Regions from separate parts of the Homo sapiens genome. Here all the other regions are linked to region 1. The links are contacts of gene promoters, found by promoter capture Hi-C in human tissues and cell types (Jung and others, 2019). All regions are on one chromosome and are shown on one strand. Each heading gives the region's core, a stretch centred on a gene start or on the middle of the fragment in contact. The rest is flanking DNA. Distances are from core to core; before and after follow the strand shown.

Evidence for each region. Contacts are between HindIII fragments. The study calls those that stand out against the background at their distance.
Region 2: a fragment that was not itself captured here is called in contact with the fragment with the promoter of ATXN10 in region 1 in 2 of the 25 tissues and cell types used here (dorsolateral prefrontal cortex and pancreas).
Region 3: a contact is called between a fragment that was not itself captured here and the fragment with the promoter of ATXN10 in region 1, in 1 of the 25 tissues and cell types used here (dorsolateral prefrontal cortex).
Region 4: a fragment that was not itself captured here is called in contact with the fragment with the promoter of ATXN10 in region 1 in 1 of the 25 tissues and cell types used here (bladder).

Annotation. Positions count from the first base shown.
Region 1 is chr22:45,668,687-45,673,749 of GRCh38, reverse strand. ATXN10 (ataxin 10) reads right to left here and starts at 1,916. Exons shown (of 12, transcript NM_013236.4): 1 at 1,571-1,916. The coding sequence starts at 1,686. RefSeq lists silencers at 1,284-1,613, 1,944-1,993, 2,054-2,243. The HindIII fragment of the contact is 16,564 bases long and covers 1-5,063 here.
Region 2 is chr22:46,336,374-46,341,436 of GRCh38, reverse strand. It overlaps TRMU (tRNA mitochondrial 2-thiouridylase), which reads right to left. Exons shown (of 11, transcript NM_018006.5): 2 at 3,493-3,658. Among named protein-coding and RNA genes, the nearest start is that of TRMU, 3.2 kb to the right of the region's middle. The HindIII fragment of the contact is 3,759 bases long and covers 141-3,899 here.
Region 3 is chr22:46,312,901-46,317,963 of GRCh38, reverse strand. It overlaps GTSE1 (G2 and S-phase expressed 1), which reads right to left. Exons shown (of 12, transcript NM_016426.7): 6 at 3,951-4,074; 7 at 1,552-1,932. Among named protein-coding and RNA genes, the nearest start is that of GTSE1, 19 kb to the right of the region's middle. The HindIII fragment of the contact is 7,099 bases long and covers 1-5,063 here.
Region 4 is chr22:45,086,694-45,091,756 of GRCh38, reverse strand. No RefSeq gene overlaps it. Among named protein-coding and RNA genes, the nearest start is that of NUP50-DT, 75 kb to the left of the region's middle. The HindIII fragment of the contact is 4,535 bases long and covers 777-5,063 here.

The DNA.
Region 1 (5,063 bases), core at 667-3,166:
CTCGCCAATCTTCCAACATATCCACATGCTCCCCTGTGCCACCACCTCTTGTATAGATTTCCATTACAATGTGTTTATTTAGCTATTTCCCAAATATGCCTGATAAAAGGGATCACTCACATCATTCCTCTCTGTACCCTCAGACCCCAACAAAAAAATCTGTTTCATAGTAGGTGCTCAATAAATGGTTGATGACTGGGTTATTAACTAAAAGGAGGGTCCATCATGATACAGAAATGCCTAAGCATTAAATCAATAAATACATCTCCCCCAAAGGCCCATAGAGCAGTACCAGGGACTTTTATTAATAGCATTCCTTCAGCAGCTCCACATTTCCCAAAGTGATGTGAGGTAAAGGAAGTGCTCAGACCAGGTGTCTAGTTTAAAGAGAGGAAGTCCTCTAGTGATCACCTAGGCTGACCCAAGTCTCAGTATTTCTTTCTTCAATGTTCCCTCTGCTTTGTACATACATACCCCCACAGCTGTGTTATCTTGTACATACTAGTACAGGAGAGAGCAAGGACTTTCCATTTTCCTACCCCATCACCTAGCACAATAGCTGATACATGGGTAACTACCAATCAATGTGTTAAGTGATAATATCAGCTACATTTAGTGCTATGTACAGGTATGTCCTAAGGATTTAATATGCATTATATCTCATTTACTCCTTATGACACTATCACCAGGGAGGTACTGTTCAACTTTACTCCCATTAAATAGACAAGAAAACTGAGGCCCAGAGGACAGAACAAGATCAAACAAGCATTGACTGAGGGCTTCGCACATTTTATATTTTCACGTACTTTATTTCATTTATTCCTCTGTACAATCCAGCAACTAAGCTGTGTATTATAGTCCCATTTTTAGACAAGAATTCTAAGGCCTGGAGAAACTGCACAGTAACACGCAGCTTGCAAGGCCAGGAACCAAATCCACAACTGTCGACTCCTGGGCACCTTCTCTTTTTGCCTGGCTATCTTGCCCCTCAGTGGCATCAGGACTGGACTGGTCTCTCCAGGCCCGTGCTCTTCCACACTGCACAGAGCGCTGCCCCCAGGGCAGATGGTGCAGCCTGGGCTCTAACGCCGAGGAGAAAGGAGTGCCAGTCCCACTCCATGCCTAGAGACTGCCATCCCCGCAACTGCCCAATTCCCGCGTCCGTAACACGGGTCTCTCCCGCTAAAACACACGCTTTATGACTCTGGGGGCCGCGTGGGTCTTGCAGCCAGGGCCTGGCGCAGCCCTCGCACATGACAGGGGAGGCCTAACCGTGTGTTGGGTCAACATCACCGGCACGCCGCGGCAAGGGCTCCCGGGATCGCGGCTTCGCACCCGGACTGGCTGCGGTGGGGGAGCGGGGCGCCCGCCCCAGGCCCCGCGGGGACCCACGAGCACGAGGCGGTGCCTGGGAGTCGGGAGGCCTGGGTGGCGCTCAGGCAGCCCGCGCAGGCCTCGCCCTCCGCGTCTCCAGCGAGGCGGGGGCGGCGCCTGGGTCCAGGCCGGGGCCGCCGCGGGAGTCCCGGCCGCCCTCCCCTGCCCGGGGCAGCCCCCCGGCCGGACCCGTTACCGGTTCCGCTGCTCTTTGAAGAGCGCCGTGAGCGCGCGCAGGGCCTCCAGGTCTTGGATGGGCGCCGGCACCATGACGCCCGACAGCCTGGCAGGCGGCGGCCTGGGCGCCGCCATCTTGCCGCTCACAGCTGGGTCGAGCCTGACGAGGAGGAGGAAGGCGAGGAGGACGAAGGGGGAGGATGACGAGGAGGGAGGAGTAGGATGGCGAGGAGGAAGGGGGAGGCCTCGCCCTACACAGCCCTAACCGCCGCCGCCGCTGCAGCCCGCGCTGCCCTGAAGCTGCGCCGCCGCCGGAGAGCTCTAGGCTGAGCCCAGACTCGCCTCAGGCGGGAGGAGGAGACGGCGCCGCGGGGGAGGGGGCGCCGGCGGAAGTCCCGCCTGAGGGGAGGGGGCGCGGCGGAAGTTCTGGGTGAGAGCGGGGAGGGATGCTGGGGGTGATTGACTGGGAAGCGTCGCAGACGGGGCTCCTCCGAGGGGAGGGGACGCCGGGGGGAGGGGGACCTGTGTTGATGTGGCCGTAACAGGGTCTCGGTCTTGGGAGCGGGTATCGGGAACCAGAGGTTCACCCTGAGAAAGAGGGGCGCGTCCTATAGGAGGGTGCCCGCGGACAGAGGGGTCTCCCCCAGGGGAGGGGATCCGGGGGGTAAGGGGCCTGTGGAGGGTGGGGCCGTAACAAGGTCTCGGTCTTGGGAGCGGGTATCGGGGACAGAGGTTCACCTTGAGGAAGAGGGGCCCTCCTGTGGGAGGGGGCCCGCAGACAGAGTGGTCTCCCCCAGGGGAGGACATTCTGGGTGGAGGGGACCCTCTTGGGAGGAGACGCTGACTGAGGGTCTCGGGAACGAAGGGGGCCGGGCAGAGGCTCCCACTGCTAAGGCTGAAGACCTTGATCCCACTGCTCAAGTGGGTTGATCAGTGCCCCCGCCCGGGTCCACTGGAAGCTGGAGCGGTCTGTCACTAGCTTGCAAGTCTCAGGCCCTGAAAACGCACTTCCCAGTACTTACTGATCATTGCTGATCAATACCAGACCACTTACCAGGCACTTTGCCTCTAGTGAGTATACATTGCTCCAGCTCCTCAAAGCCTTAAAATACCGTTCGAAGTCAAGAAGCTAAGTTACACAGCAATAGGGTTAGAATTGTTTTTTTTCCTAAGGGAAATGAATATATTTCACAGGAATCAGACAAGGCTTCTCTAGCTGGTGTTGATAACTCACATATTTTCTTTCCACTGCCCTTTATTACAGTGTATATACTTTCAACAAAAATTGTTGCTAAGCCCTGCGCTAGGTGCTGGAGATGTAAAGATTAATAAAAGACAGTTCCAAACCTGAAGGAACCTCACAGACTATTGAGAAGGAGAGAAGCAAACATAACTGAGTATAGTTGTGAACTGCTATAACTGTACAAATTGCTGTGGGACCACTTAAAATATATAAATACATACCCTTTACATTCTGCTTGGAGGGTAGGAGTGTGCTTATAACATGGCGCTTTTAACATTCTTTGCTAAATAAAATGTAAAGATAACAATAAACACCACCAGAGTATGCAGAAAAAGTGAATCCTGGTGGGGCATGGTGGCTCATGCCTGTAATCCCAGCACTTTGGGTGGCCAAGGCAGGAGGATTACTTGAGCCCAGGAGGTCGAGGCTGCAGTGAGCTGTGATCACACCACTGCACTCCAGCCTGGGTGGCAGAATGATACCCTGTATCAAAAAAAAAAAAAAAAAAAAAAAAAAAGGAGGGAGGGAAATGAATGCTGCTGCACAAGCAAGTTACTTGATATTGTCATTCAGTTTACCCATTTAATTGAGTATGTATTTATTCATTCCACGAATATTGCGGTGTACTATGTGCCAGGTATTAGATCACTTATTAGTAGCAGTGCTCAAGACAATGCAAAATGTTTAACACTCCTTAAGCTAACAGGGCAAAAATCTCTTAATTTTCCCTTGAGGAGCACAGGATAGTAAAATGTACTTGTTATGCACCAAAATCCTGATCTTTAGGCCAGACACGGTGGCTCATGCCTGTAATCCCAGCACTTTGGGAGGCCGAGGCGGGCAGATCACTTGAGGTCAGGAGTTCAAGATCAGTCTGGCCAACATGGCAAAACCCCCTTTCTACTAAAAATTAGCCAGGCATGGTGGCGGGTGCCTGTAGTCCCAGCCATTTGGGAGGCTGAGACAAGGGAATTGCTTGAACCTGGAAGGCACACGTTGCACTGAGCTGAGATCATACCACTGCATTCCAGCCTGGGCAACAGAGGGAGACTCTGTCTCAAACAAACAAACAAAAAAACCTGGCCTTTAGTTTTCTTATTCTCAAATGTAACATTCCCAGAAAAACATTCCCTATAATATTCATACTTCTTGCCTGGAATATTGTAATATATTCCTGATTGGTCTTTTGGCCTCTGCTCTTGCTTCCTTACGTTTTAGATCGTTTAAAAAATATTTCAACATTTAACTCTGCCCAAAACCCTCTAAGGGATTTCCATTTCACTCAGAGTAAAAGCCAAGTTCTTCCAATAGAAAAGCCCCTAAATGACCTGCCTCCTCCTTCGCCATCACCTCCAGCCCCTGTGGGCTCTAATCACATCTACTAGCCTCTTCCTCTTCCATTGTGCTTCAGCCATACTGACCTCCTTATTGTCCTCTGTCTATTTAAAAGGAATAAGCTGAGGTAAAATCAATATAAAGAGTTTATTTGGGCCAACGTGAGCATTGCAGTCCAGGACACACATCCAAGTTGCCTTGGGGAGTGCTCTGGAGAACGAAAGAGAAGCTCAACTTTTTAAAGAAAAAAGGACGAATCAGGAGAGAGGGTGATTTAAAAGGTTGTTTGTCATGAATTCTCATTGGTTTAAGAAATAATGTTGGTTAATGATTGGCTGTACAATGTTGAACTATAGATTGTATGCCATTGTGTAGCTAGTTGACATCAGTTCGTCTAGAGGCCAAATAGAATGTGGCTTCAAGAGGTAATTAGGCCAGGCATGGTGGCTCATGCCTGTAGTCTCAGTGCTTTGGGTGGCTGAGGCAGGAGGATTGCTTGAGCCCAGGAGTCTGAGACCAGCCTGCACAACATAGTGTGAGACCCCCCATCTCTACGAAAAAATTTTTAAAAAATTAGGCATGGTGGTACATGGCAATAGTCCCAGCTACTCCAGAGGCTGAAATGGGAGGATTCATTGAGCCTAGGAGTTGAAGGCCTCAGTGAGCTATTACCACACCACTGCAGTCCAGCCTGGGTAATAGAGAGAGACCCTGTCTTTAAAAAATAGTAATAATTCCTTTTGAAAAGAGGTAAGTATTCAGCTCAAGGAGGAGAGACATGATTGGTGTTTCATTCCAATGCTTCTCTAGGCCCGATCATTTAAAGGAGATCATATTCCTCAGATAAAGTTTTGTTTTTCCTTTTTTTTTTTTAAATCCCATAACTCCACCAGGAAAAGAACTCTCCTGCCTTAGGAGTTTGTATATGCTGGTG
Region 2 (5,063 bases), core at 771-3,270, 670 kb before region 1:
AAACTCATGTTTTTCCACATTTGCAACAACACTTGATATTATTACACTCTTTCCATTTTGCTTTAATTATTAGAAAGTTACCAGGAAGCTCATTAAACTATAAACTACTTAAGGTGCAATCTGTGTCTGTGTCCTAGACCCAACAAACTTTCTATATCACAGTCATCAATAAATGTTGAAGAGGCTGAACATTAAAATCAGTTTCTGAAAAGACACACTGTTAACCCTTTCGTAAACAGCAGATGGGAAGGCGTGTGTTTTGGCATTAGCAAAAACAATGGAGTAGCCCAGCCTCTTCTCTAACTGGAAAGAAGAGAAGCCTTTCATGTGCCTCGGGAGGGAGACAGATTTAAAAGACTCAGCAGCTAAAACGTATCTGGACTCTGATCCTTGAAGGCCAGTGGGTCTTGAATGAAAGAATGCAAAAGAAATCTCTGAGCTAGAGAGCCCTACTAGAGAAGTGAGTCTTCAGCGGAAAGACCAATGCCTCCACGGGCAGCTGGTACTGGGCGAGGGCAGAGGGCAGGCTGGCTGGAGCCAGGGGCGACCTCGGGGGCAGCCCCAGAGATGGGAAAAGACTCTACCCGGCCGCCTCCTTCTCTCAGTCCCTATCAAGCAGCGCCAGAAGGCGGCAGCAAGCACTGGCCTGGAAAGCTGGGTTTTAATCCCAGCTCCGCTCCTAATTCTGGGGTTTAATCCCAGCTCCGCTCCTAATTCTGGGGTTTAATCCCAGCTCCGCTCCTAATTCTGGGGTTTAATCCCAGCTCCGCTCCTAATTCTGGGGTTTAATCCCAGCTCCGCTCCTAATTCTGGGGTTTAATCCCAGCTCCGCTCCTAATTCTGGGGTTTAATCCCAGCTCCGCTCCTAATTCTGGGTTTTAATCCCAGCTCCGCTCCTAATTCTGGGGTTTAATCCCAGCTCCGCTCCTAATTTGCCATACTATTCAAGTCACTCTTCCTATCTGGCCTCAGCTGAGCTAAACTTCAAAAATCGCATCCACTCGTACGTTCTGAAAAAGCTGTGCTGGCAGGTGAAGTGTAAGCTCACTTGGATTCCCTGTTGTCCCCTCAAACTCTACAGTACTCATGAGGAATCCCCTAAACCAGCTTTCCCCAGCCACCCAGCCTTGATCTTGAAACTACTGCTGACTCCTCTCCTCTCTGGTCTCCCACACACATCAGTCCCTAAGCCGCATCACACCTTTTCTCAAAGAAAGACCCTGACAACCCCCCACACCACCAGCACAGCTGAAGTGCTTATTAAAGCAGATTCCAGGGCCGCCCCCAGACCTCGGTCCAGGTCTGTGTTTAACAAGCACCTCAGATCTACTGCCCGGTGGACTTGTCCTCTGGGTCCAACAAGCCAGCCCTCACCTTCCACTCCCACACTCCCTCCCCATGAAGTCCAAATCTCCAGCAACAGCACTTCCTGAGACTCTCTGCCTTTGGTCTTCCCCCAGATTTATCCTGTATTTGGCCGCCACACTCTTTTTTTTTTCTTATGTCCCCGAGAAAACTGCAGAAGTTTTTAATGCATTTATCATGCATTCTACAGATAAGTTTTTAATGCATTTATCATGCATTCTACAGGTAACTTTCCCCAGGAAAATTCAGCCATCAGTTTTGTCCATGTTGTTAATATATACGACACCCATATGTTATAGCATAGAGTCACAGAGGGTTCATATTCAAGCTCTTCCGTTGATTATTTAGGTGACCATAGTCAATTTACTTAATCTCTCTAAATTTCGTTTTATTGTTATTTCAATGGTTTTTTGGGCAACAGCTGGTATTTGGTCACATGGATAAGTTCTTCAGTGGTGACTTCTGAGATTTTGGTGTACCCGTCACCCAAGCAGTGGACATTGTACCCGATGTGTAGTCTTTTATCCCTCACCCCAGAGTCCATTATATCATTTTTATGCCTTTGCGTCCTCATAGCTTAGCTCCCCAGACTCATCTTTTTAATAATGAAAATAAAAATAGCAGGCTGGCGTGGTGGCTCACGCCTGTAATCCCAGCACTTTGGGAGGCTGAGACGAGTGGATCTTCTGAGGTCAGGAGTCTGAGACTAGCCCGGCCAACATGGCGAAACCCTGTCTCTACTAAAAATACAAAAATTATCCGGGCGTGGTGGTGCATGCCTATAATCCCAGCTACTTGGGAGGCTGAGGCATGAGAATCGCTTGAACCTGGGAGGCAGATGTTGCAGTGAGCCAAGATTGCGCCACTGCACTCCAGCCTGGGCAACAGAGCGAGGCTCTGTCTCAAAAAAAAATAGAAAAGAAAAACAGCTATGTTTATTGACTGCTTACTAATATACCAGGCATACATACTAGAACCTAATCTCAATTCTTTCATAACCCTGTGAGGCATCAGTGTTATCCTCATTTTAAAGATGAGAAAATTGGGGCTTAGAAAAGTCAAGTATCTCTTCTGGGTCTTTGTTGGCAGGAAAAAAAGAGAATTTTTTTCAATTAAAAAAACAAAGTCAAGTAAATTGCCCAAGGTCATATAATAAGCTACAGTCAGGACTCAACCCAAGGCTCTTCTGCCCCTAAAGCCCACTCAGGCAGGGGCAGCCTGTCCCGCGCACATGGCCTGCTGTGTCAGACGCCTTCGACAACTGCCCGACATTCATCACAGTCAGGGCTCACCAGAGGATGAGCCCTACACTCCTTCCACTGCAGGAACAAAAGTCCAGCCAAACTTTACAACGGTCCTGAAATACACAATCAGCATTTCTTCTCCCCTTCACGCTGCTCTCGTTACCCCATTTGGAGTCCCTTCTCTACAACTTTGTTTGCAACCCCTCCTCTCCGGTGAAGCCTTCTTGATTACTCCACACTGCAAGTTTCTCCCTCCTCTGGGTTCAGTGACTGATAGCATCACTGGTACTTCCTGCGTGCCACGCATCACTGTCACCTCTTGTGAAGATAATGTCCTCCCAACTAGACCGCAAACTCCTACAGAGCCAGGTCACAGTGAAGACATCTTAATGTTCCTAGATGTGGCACACGCCTAGCACACAGCACTTAATTATTGAGATTATATTGGATTTTAGAAAAGTTTTTGTTTGTTTCTTGTTTTCAGAGGCACAGGCCATGTATCACCTCTTTCTCAGAAATCCCCTAATCGCTGACCCACATAGCACACAGGCATTGGTGCTCACCTTCCAGGGGAGCCCTCAGCCTTAGCTCCCCTATCCTAACTGGGCAACAGAAACAGCTCAAGGTCCAAGAAAGCATTAAAGAGACTTCAGGCAAGTGGCAAAATGACAGGAGTGAGAGAGCTGGGTGTGCTGTGGGGTCCAGGCCTCGCCTCTAACACAGAGCCCCGAGGGTGGCTGAGGCCTCTTGCAGTCTTCAGCACCACCGTGGAGGGAGAGCGCTGGGCTGCAGCACAGGCGTCGGTCTGGCTGGTTACCGGATCCTTCCACTGCAAGGATCCACAGTGTGAGGAAGCTTCCTTTGTGCTGTGACCCGCACTCACCTGAACACATCATTCCAATACTCCTTTACGTAGGACACTTGATGGAAAGGGATGTCTAAGATCTGGCAAACTCTGTAAGCATCTTCACAGTCTTTGTCGGCAGTACAGACCCCATGTTCATCCAGTGAGTCCCAGTTCTTCATAAACACCCCTGTCACCTGGTAACCTGCGGGCGGGAAGGTCAATTAAAGAGAATACATAAATCAACCTTCGGTAAAACGGCAGTGATTTCTGAGCTCTGAGAAGTTCCCCACACGCTGTGCTCCTGTGCCTCTGTGCCTGGCCTGCCGGGCAGTCCCTGCTTTGCCATGTGGCTTCAGGGATCCGGTTTCCATCTTGGTGCCTGAGTCCCCAAGATTAACGAGGTGGTATTTTCTCATCTTTGTGTCCCCATCTATGTATCAGCACAATACCTAGCAGGAGGGGATCAGCCAGTGTGTGTGGAATACACGAAGGAATAGTCGAAACTCAACAAAATTTTTCAAAGCACCATTCAGTTATCAAAAAAGGAAACTCTTTTCAAAAGTTATTTCTAGTTACTATCTAAGACTTAGATTCTAAGTGATCAGATATAAAGATAATTAAAATTTTCGATATTTTGTAAGAGCTGTACCACCTAGTTTATGACCTATTTTCTACCTTTTCGATTGTAACAAAATATTCACCCAAATATTGGAAAGGCCAACTTTAGCCCTACACCACCTTAGCAAACTACACAGGTGCAGACCCTGTATGAGAAAGCTGGTTCGTTTAGGTAGGCTGAATGTAATGAAAGACAGGGCAAATGACTGCTGAAGAAGGCTTCATATAGTACCCAAAACAACAGAAATTTGATGACAAAGCTTTGTCAAAACTACACCACCACACGCGAAAGACCACCCCTATCCCAGATCAACCAGACTAATGTCTACCTAACAGTCTAAAGCCCCTGGTATAGCATCTTCCATAATCAGGGCTAAACGTGCTCCAGGCTCCTCTCCTTCCATCTCCATCTGGCCAGAACCAGCCCACACTTGCAGGCCTCTGTGATTCTGCTTGCACTGCTGACTGTGCCGGGAGGGCCGCCTCCACCTCCAAGTCTCTGCTTAGTGACATCCTACTCTTCTTTCGACTCAGCTGAGCACCTCCATCTCTAGGATGCTTTCCTCCACTCTCCCTTCCTCACAACTATTTCTGCTTATGGTCCGCCTACCCTTCTCTTTGGCACTTACTGTACCTACCATAATAGCTATGGTTATTAACAATATAAACTAATAGCCACTACTGTTTTCTGCGTACCTCGTATGTGCTGAGCACGTACTCATCAGTATGTACTATGTCATCTAATCCCTCCAGTCACCCCGTGAGGCAGGTGTTAGCCGAATTTTACAGGGGACGGCTTAATTCACTTGCCCAAGGTCAGGAGCCAAAGATGGCGCAAAGCAGAGCTCCACAAACGTGACTCTGTGAATGAGGCCTCCCGCGGGGAGCCACACAGGTGAAGTTAAACAAGTGCTCATTTCAGCGCCGGGCCCGAGGAATGCTAAGCACCCGTGGGGCTCCGTTTAGATGCCGGAAGAAATGCAAATGCT
Region 3 (5,063 bases), core at 1,061-3,560, 640 kb before region 1:
CAGTGCACAGGTGCAGGGCAGGAGTCCTCAAGGTCAAGAGAAGAGCAACTACCAGGGAGCAACGAGCGGAGCTCACAGGGCCGAGAAACCGCCGTCTTACCAGGGAGCAACGAGCGGAGCTCACAGGGCCGAGAAGGTGTCATCTTGCAGCAGCAGGAGTGCAGGGGTCTCGCGGGCCTTGCGGGACACACGGGTGTGCAGCAGAGGCCTTGGGAAGGACGCCGGTGGCGGGAGGCGGAAAGGCTATGCTAGACCCACCACTTCAAAGCATAAAAAGCCTCGGAAGGATGATCTGCACCTTAACTGCCTGCCAAGCCCAACCCAACTCCTCAGAGAAAGACAACAAAATCCAGACATTCAAAAGTGTACACCTGACAATATCCAACAACCAAGAAAAACTTGTGAAAAATGTAGAGGCAGGAAAATGAGGCCAAAACCCGGAAACAAAATTAGTCAGTCGAAACAGACCCCAAAATGATGGGGAAGATGGTATGAGAAGAATCGTAGACCCTAAAACCATTATCAATTTGCTCACGAGGATGTAAAAGAAAACCCAAGTACCATGAGAAGAAATAAGGGGAAACTATTATGTTAGAAACAAAGTTAACTGGATGGGCTTCACAGCTGTTAGGCACTGCAGAAGAAATGATATCTGACAACAGAAACTACCCAAACTGTAGCTCAAGGAAAAAGGCTGGGCCGGGCACGGTGGCTCACACCTATAATCCCAGCAGTTTGAGAGGCCGAGATGGGTGGGTCACTTGAGGTCAGGAGTTCCAGACCAGCCTGGCCAACATGGCGAAACCCCGTCTCTACCAAAAATACAAAAAAAAAATTAGCCGGGTGTGGTGGTGGGCACCTGTAATCCCAGCTACTCGGGAGGCTGAGGCAGGAGAATTGCTTGAACTCGGTAGGTGGAGGTTACAGTGCGCTGAGATCGCGCCACTGCATTCCACCCTGGGTGACAGAGCGAGACTCCGTCTCAAAAAACAAAAAACAAAAAAAAAGAAAGAAAGAAAAGAAAAAAGATAAGAAAAAGAAAAAAGGCTGAAATAAAAAAAAGAACAGAGCTTCGGTGTCCTGTGAGACAACGTCAAGAGGCCTGAAATAGATGTGATTAGAGTCCTAGGAAATAAAGTGGAAAGAGGAAAAGATAGCTGAAGAAATAATGGCCAACGTTTTCCAAATTTGCTGAAAAAAACCAACCCACAGATCAAAGAAGCTTAAGAAACCCTCAGCGGGATAAAGGCAAAGAAAGCCACCTCAAAGCACATAATAATCAAATTCCCGACAGTAACACTAAAGAGAAAACCTTACAAGCAGCCTACGAGCATTGGGGTGTCACACACACAGGAACGAACGTAAGACATTCAGGGAGCCTCCAGTGACCCCCCAAAACAACGTGGGCGAGAAGACAGCGGGTCACACCTGAAAGCACTGTTGGAGGAAAGAACTAAAAACACCATCAATGCCATCAATAATTGTTTAAAACTTTAAATGCAATTTCTTCAGTATTTTTTAAAGACACATTAAAATGTATCTATTACTCACCAATAGAAAACTTAGGAATTTTAAATTGATTTGTAGGAGTAGGCATAACCTTTGTCTTGGAATTTAGACAGGAATCTCGCCGTCTGATACTTCTAGTCTTATTCAATTGAGAAGATTCTGACCAAGCGCAACTGGAGTTCAGCCACTGGCCGCCACCTTCCGGAGTCTGGGGTTGGGTGGGGGATGCTGAGGGGGGTGCCGTGAGCTGCTCCGCTGCCAGCTCAGAAACATCGACCCGCTTGGCCTGCCAGGAGGATGCCCCCACAGGGCCTGCAGGCAGAGCTGGCCGCAGCATGGCGGGTCCCATTCTGCCTGACTTGCTGATGTTTGACAGAGGCCGGGAGCTATTTGCAGGAATACTTGCAAATTCACTTGATTTAGCTAGAAGGTATACACACAAAAATCACATTATTATAAAAGTATGAAGCTATTTAACAAACACACAGAAGTTATGCTGTCTTTAGCATATCTACCTTAAACATAAGACACATTAACAATATTCTATAAGCCCTTCAGGCAACATCATCAAACACAGGATGGCTCAGGCAGCTTTTAGCTTAGCTGAGTGTATTCTAAGGTACTTATTCTCAAAATAATTACTAACATGTACATAAGCATGCATAAATTCAAGCTCTCCTATCTTCGTTGATTATGTTGGCAGGAGAAATCTACATTAGTTGAGCAGATGGAAGGGGATAGTCTAGTCACATGTCTCACCTGTCTGGTCACAGAGGTGGGCAGGGAACAAGGAAAAAAGACGCAATTGTTACTGGTTGATTCCTTTAAAATTACAAGGAGGCTGCGTCATATTAACCATAAGCACTATTTAAAATAGAAGACCAGATAAACTAGGGTAATACATACTGAGCTACCAATATACGCAGACGATCTGGTAAAGGATTCTTAAAGAAAAACTTTAGCCCAGGAGTGGTGGCTCACGCCTGTAATCCAAACACTTTGGGAGGCCAAGGCAAGAGATCACTCAAGGCCAGGAGTTCGAGACCAGCCTGGCTAATATAGTGAGACCATCCTCTCTACAAAAAACACAAAAATGTGGGCCAGGCGCAGTGGCTCGTGCCTGTAATCCTAGCACTTTGGGAGGCCAAGGCGGGCGGATCACGAGGTCAAGAGATCGAGACCATCCTAGCCAACATGGTGAAACCCCGTCACTACTAAAAATACAAAAATTAGCCGGGCGTGGTGGCAGGTGCCTGTAGTCCCAGCTACTTGGGAGGCTGAGGCAGGAGAATCACTCGAACCCGGGAGGCAGAGGTTGTAGTGAGCCAAGATTGCGCCACTGCACTCCAACCTGGCAATAGAGTGAGACTCCATCTCAAAAAAAAAAAACCCACAAAAATTAGCCGGGTGTGGTGGCATGTGCCTGTAGTCCCAGCTACTCAGGAGGCTGAGGTGGGAGGATTGCTTGATCTCAGGAGGTCATCACCTCAGTCTATAAAGATAAGGACACAAACCTCTCTTAATCACAGAATGGCAGAGTCAGAATTCCAGATCAGATCAATCTGATTAGAGAGTTCACACTTATCATTTTTTTTTTTTTTTTTGAGACGGAGTGCAGTGATGCAATCTCGGCTCATGGTAACCTCTGCCTCCCGCGTTCAAGCCATTCTCGTGGCCCAGTCTCCCGAGTAGCTGGGACTACAGGCACCCGCCACCATGCCCGGCTAGTTTTTGTGTTTTTAGTAGAGACAGGGTTTCACCATGTTGGCCAGGCTGGTCTCAAACTCCAGGGGTCAAGCGATCCACCCATCTTGGCCTGCCAAAGTGCTGGGATCACAGGCGTGAGCCCCTGCGCCCGGCCCACTTTTTACATTTTGTGAACACAATCCACACCATGCTGCCCTGAACGACCCCGAGACGCCACATGGCCAATGCACCTCGAAGAGGATTTCGCTCTGAAGAGCAGAAAGGCGAAGGCTTTCCCTTACCACTAGATGGCAGCTGTGGCTTGGCAAGGTTGAAATGTGGCTTGACCTCAAACAGGTGTGGGAGCATGGATTTAAACAGGCACCCAGGAGTTATGGGGCCATATGCCCTACATTATCTGGAATAGTCCTATTTTAAAACTGGTGTCTCATGACATGGACATGAGGGTGATTCCAGTGTCCATGTTCTCAGGCACGGGGTATCATACATGCTTTCTGGCCATGTGTACCCCGTAGACTGAAGCCACCCATCTGAGTGTGCCCTCCTCATGGGACAGAGGCACTGAGGGCAGGTACAGCAACTCAGTCCACAGCCTGGTCCACCGCACACAGCACGCCCTCCGGGACGTCCTGCCAAGCCTAAGTGGTTCTGCAGAAACAGTCTCCAAGGCCTGAGCAGCACTCCAGGCCTCACCTGGCCAGATGTGGGTCCAAGCATGATGCCGGCTGCCTCACCTTTGCCCACTGCTGGGGATGTGCACGCACTGGATGCCCCGCTCCAAACAGGCCCCGAGGAGGACTTCCTTGCGAGATTGCTGGTAGAGCCGGGTGCTTTTAACAGGGTCTTCTTCAGCCCCAACTGGGGCAAAATGTGAAAAAACAGAATCAGCAAAGATCTCGTTATTTACCTATTACTTGTGTCTGCAAAAGTAAGGGGTTTTTGGCTGGGCACGGTGGCTCACGCCTGTAATCCCAGCACTTTGGGAGGCTGAGGCCGGAGGATCACAAGGTCAGGAGTTTGAGACCAGCCTGGCCAATATGGTGAAACCTTGTCTCTACTAAAAATATAAAAACTAGCTGGGCATGGTGGCAGGCACCTGTAGTCCCAGCTACTCGGGAGGCTGAGGTAGGAGAATTGCTTGAACCCGGGAGGTGGAGGTTGTAGTGAGCTGAGCTCGTGCCATTGCACTCCAGCCTGGGCGACAGAGTGAGACTCCGTCTCAACAACAACAACAACAACAAAAGTTGGTGTTTTTACTATTTTAAAATAATCTAATAATTATCATCTTGAATTTAAAGAAGAAAAAAGTCAAGCAGCACTTCTCAAAGTGTAGTCTTCAAACCCCTGCATGAGGACCACATTAGGGAGCTAGCAGAAATGCAGATTTGGGGCCCCAACCCAGACCCCATGAGTCAGCAGCTGCAGGGCCCAGCTTTGGGCAGTTCTAACAAGAACTGCCAGTACACACAGCTTGGTTTACCGCCAATGCCAGAAAATAAGTGGCAAAGATGTGGCTGGTAGTCTCCATGCCTGTGAGGAACCGCAATTTTCTTTCTTTTCCTTTTTTTTTTTTTTTTTTTTAGACAGGGTCTCACTCTGTTGCCCAGGCTGGAATGGAATGCAGTGGCATGATCACAGCTCACTGCAGCCTTGACCTCCTGGGCTCAAGCAATCCTCCCACCTCAACCTCCCAAATAGCTGGGACCACAGGCATGCACCACCATGCCTGGCTGATTTTTATTTTTTAATGGAGATGGGGGCCTCACTATGTTGCCCAGGCTGGTCTCAAACTCCTGGGCTCAAGTGATCCTCCCGCCTCAGCCTCCCAAAGTGCTGAGATTACATGT
Region 4 (5,063 bases), core at 1,795-4,294, 580 kb after region 1:
CCAGTGCCTGGTCCGTGGCAGGCATTTATCTGTTGACTGAAGGAGAAACAAGAAAGTAAGGAAGCAGCCCCGGAGCTGGAGGGATCCGCAGGGCCCCCGAGGCCAGTTGTCTTGCTGCTGAGAAGCAGAGGAGTTCCAGAGCTTAGCGACTTCTCCCAGGTCGTCAGCGAGCGAGCGGCAGAGGCAGGACAAGAACCCGGAGCGCCCCACTTTACAGGGCACCTGCTCTCTCGACCTGTCTCTGGGTGGGGCTTTCTTGCCACGAACTTGCCCCTCCCCGACTCAGACTTTGTGCCTGGCCCTGACCCTTTCCCTCCTGGCCTCCGCACGCCGTGAGCGTGTCCCATCAGCGTGTCGAGTGAATCCGCGTAGACGCCCACCTCCCTGCCTGAGCTCTGCAGGTCCACCCTCTGTGTGGGACGGTGCCGCGTGCAGGTGCACACTTGAGGGAACCAGGTGGTTCAGGGTCCACAGAAACCACCTGCAGCCGGTAAGCTGCGATTTTAAAACACGTGTAAAGGAAATAATCCATCAGCACTAACTAGAAGAATCAAGAGGTAAATCCTTTATGTTTTGCTTTGAGTAAGAGTTTAATTAGCAGCCATAGATTTCTCTGGAACTGGATTTTAGTTTCTATTGGTTGGGGCCCAAGCTTTGAAGGGTGACATATTTTGATGCAGAGGAAAAAAAAATCAATGTATAGATTGTTACTGGAAGCATGAGTTTCACACATTTCTTCTATAGAGGGGTGTGTGTGTGTGTGTGTGTGTGTGTGTGGTTGGTCACGAGAACCAAAGAAATCACTATCTCAGTAGACAGAAGCAATAGGAAAATCACTTACCGGAGGGCTCCTTACATTTTTTTTTTTCATTTCTTTTGCTTTTACTGTGAATGGTAAGCTTTTGTTAACTTAGTAGACTGATTGCCTTGTTTGCAAGGGCAAGACTATGAAAACGCCAACAGGCCAAGTCCGTAGCTGCAGGCACAGAACTTCACAGGCTCTGGAAATGCAAACACTCGTCGGAGTCATCGGCAGCCGTGGCTTCTCAGGAATCTGGGAGAGGAGAATGCAAACCGATTATTCGAGTTGACGGGAGAAATACAAACACAATTCCAACTCTCAGACTTTTTAATTAGTTCTCTCTGCTTGCTAGGGTTGGCCTTTAGCCTTAATTGTGGAGGGAATGGTGTTTGTCTCCTGTAAATAAACTTCAGTCAAAAAGCAGATAAGGGCTGGGTGCGGTGTCTCACTCCTGTAATCCCAGCAGTTTGGGAGGCCGAGGAGGGTGGATCACTTGAGGTTGGGAGTTCGAGACCAGCCTGGCTGGCCAACATGGTGAAACCCCATCTCTACTAAAAATACAAAAGATTAGCCAGGCATGGTGGCACATGACTGTAGTCCCAGCTACTTGGGAGGCTGAGGCAGGAGAATAGTTTGAACCCGAGAGGCGGAGGTTGCAGTGAGCCAAGATCATGCCATTGCACTCCAGCCTGTGTGACAGAGTGAGACTCCATCTCAAAAAAAAAAAAAAAAAAAAAAAAAGAACGATTTGTACAGCTGCAAGCAACTCTAGACCAGCACTGTCCAGAGAAGTGAGCCACATTGGCCATTTAAAATTCTCCAGAAGCCCCATTAAAGAGAGAAAAAATCAAATGAAGTTAATTTAATTTTATTTTAATTTTGAGACAGTCTTGCTCTGTCACCGAGGATGGAATGCAGTGGCTCATTCATAGCTCACTGCAGCCTCGGCCTCCTGGGCTCAAGTAATCCTCCCACCTCAGCCTCCCAAGTAGCTGTGACTATAGGTGCACGCCAGCACACCCAGCTAATGTTTGTATTTTTTGTAGAGATGGGGTTTGCTGTGTGGCCCAGGCTGGTCTCGGAGTCCTGGGCTCAAGTGATCCTCCTGCCTTGGCCTCCCAAATTGCTGGGATTATAGGAGTAAGCCGTTGTGCCTAGCCAAAGTGAAATTAACTTTAATCTTCATCTTAGTTCAATATATCTGAAATATTATCCATTCAACATGCAATCCACATACAAATTTGTATTATTGTTGTTATTTTTTAGACACAAGGTCTTGCTCTGTCACCCAGGCTGGAGTGCAGTGACATGATTATGGCTTACTGCAGCCTCAACCTCCTGGGCTCAAGAGATCCTCCTGCCTCAGCCTCTTGAGTAGCTGGGACCACAGATGTGCACCACCATGCCCAGCTAATTTTTAAATTTTTTATAGGGACGGGCTCTTGCTATGTTGTCCAGGCTGGTCTTGAAATCGGCCTCCAGCAATCCTCCTGCCTCTGTCTCCTAAAGCTCTAGGATTAGAGTCGTGAGTCACTGCACCTAGTCCACACAGAAATTATTAATGAGATATTTTACATCTTTTCCCATACATGCTGAGTCCTGCAATATGACAGTGACAGAAGGTGACAAAGATATTTAGAAACAAACTTACTAGGTGGAAAGAGGGAGTATAGAAATGAATGGCCTTTGGATAAAACCTTCCTCCCTTTGTGACTGGGCCACTCACCAACCCCTTAAAGTCTGTCCCCAGCTCAAGCTCAGGTGCAGCTGTCCCTGTGGAATGAGCCTCATGGGTGCTTTGAGGGCTAGACAGGGTGAGCTGGCTGTGCTGCAGGTCTTGCTCAGACCCTGGTGAACTGTCCCTGAATCCCTGTCTTGTTCATTCATCCAATATTTATTGATCACTGCCAATGCAAAACATGGCATACACAACATTCCATTGATCGACAACCTTCTGCCCCTGGTCTCCTCTCCTTATGACACGTTTGGAGCCTCTCAGCCTTGTCTCATTCCCTCTCATGCTAGGAGAACTCCAGTACTTGGCTTTGAACCTGACTGCTAGAGACAGAAACCTCAGCCAGCTATGGAGAAAGGGGGCCCTCCTCTCCTGCAGCTGCAGCAAAGCAGGTGTTATTCTGCATCATAAACCATCCTGGCCAATGTTTCCAAGAAAGAGATCTTCAGAGGTTGTTGCTATGCCCTGGGAAAGCTGCCTTCAATCTCCAAAACATCTGTAATCCTCATCAGGTTTCTTACTCAAGAAGTTGTGGCCCTGGGTAACGCTATATGTGTCAAAACCTGTTTTCTAAATTGTATATTTGGCTGGCTTCTCAGACCTCTCTTCCACCCCATCTACTAGAGTGACCTTTCTCAATTCCAAATCCGCTTAAGGCAAAGAGCTTCATCAGTGCATCCTTCTTCTCCCTGTTCACTTAAAAATAAATCACTATATACACATTTAGAAAAAGAGAGAAGACTGGCCGGGCGTGGTGGCCCACGCCTGTAATCCTAGCACTTTGGGAGGCCTAGGTGGGTGGATCACAAGGTCAGGAGATCGAGACCATCCTGGCTAACACGGTGAAACCCTGTATCTACTAAAAATACAAAAAGTTAGCCAGGCGTGGTGGCACATGCCTGTAGTCCCAGCTACTTGGGAGGCTGAGGCAGGAGAGTGGCTTGAACCCGGGAGGTAGAAGTTGCAGTGAACTGAGATTGCACCACTGCACTCCAGCCTGGGTGACAGAGACAGACTCCTCCTCAATTAAAAAAAAAAAAGAAAAAGAGAAGAGACTTTATTTCTTCTAAAGGGTTCCACCCTGCAAGGTGGCCATGGAGCAAGGTGGGAAGTATACCTCCGGCCAAGACCAGAGACAGGCTCTTTGAAGGAGGAGGGGTTGGGCCTGACCAGGCTGGCTAATCATACATATTCAACAGGTTACAGGAGGAGCTATGAATATTCATGAAGGTGTCCTGACTCATGCGTACTGAATAATCATGCACGTCACAGGTGACCCATGTTCACTTTGGGATGGAGACTCCACATTTAAATGTATTACAATCAGGCCCAAAAGATCCTTTCAGGACAGGAAGGCCTGAAAGTGCACTCTGTAAACCCGCCGGTGCCAGTCCATGGTGGGTGGCCTTCTTATCAGGAGAAAGTTACAGAAACCAGTGTCTTGTCCAGTCAAAGCTGGAATTAGGGCTGGTGGAACAGGAGGTCATTAGTTAGCATCTGGGAGCTAGATGAGTTGCAAGTGTTTGAATCTTGCTCATCTTGAGGCCAGGGCTTATTTAGCTGCTGGAGAACAAGGAAAAACCTTGTGGCAGGTAGAACCTCATTTTTTTGTTTGTTTGTTTGTTTTGTTTTTTGTTTTTTAATTTTTTTTTTTTTCGAGATGGAGCCTCACTCTGTCGCCTAGGCTGGAGTGCAATGGCATGGTCTCAGCTCACTGCAACGTCCACCTCCCGGGTTCAAGCAATTCTCCTGTCTCAGCCTCCCAAGTAGCTAGGACTACAGGCATGTGCCACCACACCCAGCTAGTTTTTATATTTTTAGTAGAGACAGGGTTTCACTATGTTGGCCAGGCTGGTCTTGAACTCTTGACCTCATGATCCATCCACTTCGGCCTCCCAAAGGGCTGGGATTACAGGCGTGAGCCACTGCACCTGGCTCCTCGTCTGTTTTTTAAGTGTAGGGGCGCAGCATTCAACCCTTGTGACCATAGGTCCTGTTTACAATTTGGTATCTTTTTGTCACAAAGAGTCTGTTCTGTCTCTCTTATGATGTCTATTCTAGCATTAATGCTGGCCAGTTGTTGTTTGTGCTGTTTGTTTGACTGGGACATACTATTTTATTTTATTTTTATTTTTTTGAGACAGAGTCTTGCTCTGTCACCAACCTGGAGTGCAGTGGCATGATCTCAGCTCACTGCAACCCCCGCCTCCCAGGTTCAAGCGATTCTCCTGCCTCAGCCTCCCGAGTAGCTGGGACTATAGGTATGTGCCACCACGCCCAGCTAATTTTTGAATTTTTAGTAGAGACGGGGTTTCACCATGTTGGACAGGCTGGTCTCAAACTCCTGACCTCATGATCCACCCACGTCAGCCTCCCAGAGTGCTGGGATTGCAAGCGTGAGCCACGTGCCCAGCCTGACTGAGACATATTAATTGGTACTTAAAAGCACTTACTATGTGCTTTAAACCATAAAAAGGAGAAAATCTGATGAGCCGTGTCTGACCTGTCCTGTCATGGCCAGGAACT